2 separate regions of the Homo sapiens genome follow, and region 2 is linked to region 1. The links are contacts of gene promoters, found by promoter capture Hi-C in human tissues and cell types (Jung and others, 2019). All regions are on one chromosome and are shown on one strand. The core of a region is centred on a gene start or on the middle of the fragment in contact, and the rest is flanking DNA. Distances in the headings are between cores, read along the strand shown. Region 1 holds the start of OR51L1 (olfactory receptor family 51 subfamily L member 1). Region 2 has its middle 14 kb from the start of OR52J3.

Region 1 (2,700 bases), core at 94-2,593:
ATTAATCACATTAACATGATATTAAAGAAAAATAATATGTATCATAAAAGCATGAATTTCAATAAACCCAAAATAATTTTATGAAATTCAGCATCTATTTTTGACAAAATCCCTTATCACATGAACAATAGAAGATGACAACATTCTCGGATAAAAGCAGGTACAAAAAATCTTAGCAAACATACTTAATGGTAAAATGTTGTTAACCACACCTGTGATATCTGCAAAAAGAAAAGAAAACAATTTTTATCCCTTCTCCCCAAAATGCACTGGAGATCTTATCCAATGCAACAAAGCAATAAATATAGAAAACGATAATGAAGATTTTAAATAAGAGAAAAAGAAGCTGACATTACTTGTGGAGGTGTGATTTGGTGCAAAATAAGGCCTTAGAGAATACAGATCACTTATTAAAAATAAAAAATAAGTTCAGCTTTTCTGAAAAAAGAAAAATTAACTTTATTTTTATGTAACAGTCCCAAATATTTAGAAAAAATTAATCATGCTACTTACGTTAGCACAATTGAATGCCAAATATGTGAGAATAAACCTAGTGTAAAATATGTAATCTCCAAACAGACAAGTATAAAATAATATTGAGAAAAAATAAAGACCTTAATTAATTGAAGTTCCTGTTCTTGGATTAGTTATCTTACATTCTAAACATGTAAATTCTCCCCAAATCGATCTACAGATTCAATACATTCTCAATAGTAGTCTCAATGTATATCTTGGTAGAAATGGATAACCTGTTTCTAAAATTTATTAATAAATGCAAAGAGGTAGGATAGCCAATATGCAAAGAAAAAAAATGTGTTGGGAGATGATGCTTCTTACCAAGCACTGAGGAAGCAGCAATGAACTGGATAGTAGCGTTTGCCTTTAAAGTGCTTAGTGTGCCTTCTTGAACCCTGTTGCTTAATAAATGCTTATGAAGCACATGACTAATAAATAACTCTGTTTAGTGAAATGTGGTAAACATCTTATAATGGAAAGACTTATCATTGCACTTTCTCATCATTGTTCTGTACAATGCCCCTAGTTAAAGCCGAAATTTCAGTATTCTTCTGGATCACAGTAGTTATCATAAATTTACTTTCTTACACTCATTTGAGAAAACTATTAGAGAACTAAGAATGGTGGATGAAAACAGGGATGCATTTCTACTATTTTCAGTATTATGATCATATGCTCTTGCCATACCTGTGGTTAAGGGCTTTTTATGGCCATTTCATCTCTGGGGATCCAACAGACTCTGACACCAATCCCTAATTTTCTTTGCCAGGAGACACCAGGAGTATTTATAGAGATGGTGGAAGCCTTCAAGCCTCACCACTCACAGAGTCGAAGGTTTTCAAAACCTGAGGTTCATAGAGACTTAAAATTGTAGCATCTTTAATCAGTACAGGTTTGATTTTCAGGTAGAGATGGGAAGTTTTCTCAGGTGAGAGATAAGCCCGTAAGAGCAGCAACTTAAACCACAGACACACAAAGAGAAATTAGAAGAAAGAAACAGCCAATCAAAGGGACCGGAAAAAATAGAGGATTACATGCTGAAAAGACACAAACTTAGATAAAAACAAAATATAAAAAAATGGCAGCAGGAAGGAGGCTAGAAAAGATAGTAAAGATAATTTGACACATAAAATGAGATAAAGAGAGAAAAAGCCACAGACATAGGAACAGAAAGAAAATATGACTTTAACTATAGTGAAGAAAAGTTTAGTCAGAGAAAGACAAAATGGAACTGTGGATCATTTGAGAAATGGGCTACTGATTGCAAATTAACTAGGCATATTGATTCAATTGCCTTATATTTAAATTTCAGGTAAGTGTGAATTTTTAAATTATAAATAGTTGGTAGATTTTAGCACATTTTGTATGTGGATATAGTTTGCTAAAGAGAGTAAAATTATGAGAAAGATGATGTACCATTTATGCAAAAGGAAAAAGAATTATTCTCATCTGTGAAAAAAATTAAATTTATTACAGTATTGTAATGTCTTGTTCCAATTATTTTCAGCGATTTTAAGATAAGCGATAAGCTGATTAGCAGAGAATAGGTTTTGATACTAGAGAGGCTGTAAAAAAATGGTCTTATGTTCAGTAGTTCTCCCTTAATTACCTGGAATAGGTGAATGTGTGACATAAGCCTATTCATGCCTCTGCCCTTTGAAACAGTCTTGTTATTACTCCCAGTTCTTTTCTATTATTTCTCTTTCGACCTCAGTGTGATTAAGTTGTACTAAAATCAACAAAGAACCACAAAGAATCATTGTCAGTGACCCAGAAATAGAGTCAAAAGAAAATGAATAGAGAAAAGACAATAAATGGATTTTAAAAAGTGAAAGACATGACAGATATGGCAGTGAGAGGATAAGAAAGGGAAAGTACACACAGAAATAGAAACGGGAAAGGGGCTTAGGGGGCCCGGGTAGTGGAGGAAATGCGGAAAAGTAGCTCAAAGCATACAAACTTGCAGTTATGTAGGAAGAATAAGTCTAGAGATCTAATATACAGCATGACCACAGTTCATAATATTGTAGAATGGGAACTCTTTTCAGGTGAGGGATAAATCAATGAGATAAAGCAGTGAGTTAATAATATTGTAGAAATGGGGACTCTTTTTAAGTGAGGGATAAACCAATATGAGCAAGAATTAAAACCACAGAAATTGTATACCGAAAATTTGCCAAGAGA
Region 2 (2,700 bases), core at 80-2,579, 37 kb after region 1:
AACTAACCTTTGAGCCAGATGGCCCTCTGGGTGGGAGGTCAGCCAGGGAAACTGCCCCCCTGGTGGTATTTACTTCAGACCACCTTAGCTGAGCTTTAATCATTCCTAGAACTACTCTCTTAACCATGTTAATTATCCACAAGTGTGTTGACTCAGAGCTTCTGTTGTTAATTGTATACTAAATAAATGTCTGGAGTGCAAGCTTCTCAAGGCCAGCCGCAGTGACAAACCTCTCTTGGTGTGCAGGTGGTCGGACATTCAGCAGGACTGGCATAACAGATTATCTGTGTGTCAATGTACATTTTATTCATCCATCGTTTGGGTCAGGGTCTGCAGGCAGACCCCTGCAGCTAATGCCCTCTTGTGAGGAGCAATTCCTCAGATATATACCTAATAATGCAATTACTTGGTAAATTGTATTTTCAAATTAATTTCTACATTGTTTTTAAGAATATTAAAATTGAATGTGTTTTTGAATATTACTCAGAATTTTTTAAAAATACAAATATTTTGAATATCTTATATACACAATCATATAAGTAAATAGAGACTTTTACTTTATTCTTTCAAATTCTCATCTTTTTTTCTATAATTTTTCTTACTGTATTATACTCTTTTGGGCATATAGTGCAGTTCTGAATAGAAGTATTTATAAGACATCTTTGACTTTACCTGACCTTATAGGAGAAATATTGAATATGTTTTCATTAATATAATTTTAGCTGTATTATTTTTATGTGTATCTGTAAAATTAGGGTAGTTACATCTGTTTCTAGTTTACTCAGAAATCTTACAAAATAGTAGTGGTGGAGGGAATGGAAATGGTTAATGGGTACAATAATATAGTTAGAATGAATAAGATCTACTATTTCATAGCACAAGATGATTACAGTCAACAATTATTTATTATACACTTAAAAGTAAATAAAAGAATTGGAATGTTTGTAACACAAATAAATGATAATGCTTGAGGTGATGCATACTCCATTTACCACACTGTGATTATTATGCATTGTATGCCTGTATCCAAATATACATAAAAATATACACCTATGATGTACCAAAAATTAAAAGTAAAATGTTAGTATAAAAATTTTATTAAAAGGATAAAAATGTTTAAATTTTATATATTAAGGTGATCATCTTTTTCTATCTTTGGCAGTGTGAAGAAGTATATCTATAATTTTTTAAAACAAATTATGTACTAGAATAGCCTTCATTTGTTTGCAATGTGTTATTCTCTTGATACAACATTGTATTCTATTTGATAATTTTTAAGGGTATTTATATCTGTGCTTATAAAACACGTTAGTCTTTAATTACCTTTCCTCAGAATATAATTGACTGGTTCAGTTATCACTCATGAAACCAGTTGGGAAATACTCTATACTCTCAAAGACTTTGGACTCTACTGGTATTAGCTCCTTTGTAAATGTTGAGATAAAATCACAAATGAAACTCTTTCAGATTGAAGACTTTTTGAGTGACTTTTTAAAAATTATGGATTAAATATTTAGAGGAACAATGATCCAATTTTGTCTTTCTTGTTTAAATTCTGAGGGTATATTTAGAAACAACATGTCATTTAAACTATGATATCTAGTGTAATGCAAAAATATTCTGCATTGTATTCACTGCATGATTTAAATATGTTTAAATGTGTGTGAGATCTGTAGTAATGGCTCCCACTTCCATTAACAGTATGAACTGTGTTTTCTCTGTTTTCTCATGATCATTTCTGTTAAAAATTTTATGTATTTATTAAACTATTTAAAGAACAAACTTTCCACATTGTTGATTTTCTCCATTTTATTTGACTTTTATTGATTTTAAAGAAAATGTGGTATATGCATAGAATATTATTTAAACTTAAAAATGGAAATTCTGCTATTTGCAATAACATGAGGGTATTACACTAAGTGAAATAATCCATTTATAGAAGGACAAATGTGGCATGATTCTACTTTAAATGAAGTTTTTATACTAGTGAAACTCAGAAGTGAATAAGACAATAATGGTTTCCAGAAGTTAAGGGGCTGGAGAAAATGGGAAGTTGTTGTTTAGTGAGTACAAAGTTGAAGTTATGATAGATGAATAATTTTAGTGCCTGTAGTAAACAATATAGTAGTGTGAAGTTCAAAATTTGTTGAGGGCAGACCACATGTTAAGTGTTCTCACCACAAAATAAAACAACAACAACAATTACCAAAAAAAAAAAAATAAATAAAAAAAAGAGATCCAAGTAAGGTTACTTTGTGAGGTAATGAGGGTTTAGGACTCTAACATATACATTTTCAGGGGCTACAATTCAACTGATAATAATGACTAGACCCAAAATATTAATCATGGTTGAGGGCAAAGCACTTTTTAGTCATATAAAGTTTTGAAACTATACTTCCCATTTATCATACTTTGGGAATTTACTTAAAGATTTGTTCCAGAAAAATTGCAAGGCTATCTGTAAAATAGGAAGATAGGAGGTTTGAGGAACAGGGGCTCCAAAACCAAAGAGAAATAAAAGATATTCTCAGCAAGACACCTAAGTGCAACCATTTCAGAGCAGAACTACAGAACTGGTGCCACTGTGAGGGATGTGTCCAAGAAAAAAAATTAAATCTGTGTCTGTTGGGATACTTTATATTACATATTTTTGAAAAGATAATATAGACCTTCAAAGGAAATTTATTGGCTCTCACAGCA

The links. Contacts are between HindIII fragments. The study calls those that stand out against the background at their distance.
Region 2: a fragment that was not itself captured here is called in contact with the fragment with the promoter of OR51L1 in region 1 in 1 of the 25 tissues and cell types used here (ovary).

Annotation. Positions count from the first base shown.
Region 1 is chr11:4,993,508-4,996,207 of GRCh38, forward strand. OR51L1 (olfactory receptor family 51 subfamily L member 1) reads left to right here and starts at 1,344. Exons shown (of 3, transcript NM_001004755.2): 1 at 1,344-1,828. The HindIII fragment of the contact is 11,490 bases long and covers 602-2,700 here.
Region 2 is chr11:5,030,778-5,033,477 of GRCh38, forward strand. No RefSeq gene overlaps it. Among named protein-coding and RNA genes, the nearest start is that of OR52J3, 14 kb to the right of the region's middle. The HindIII fragment of the contact is 7,888 bases long and covers 1-2,700 here.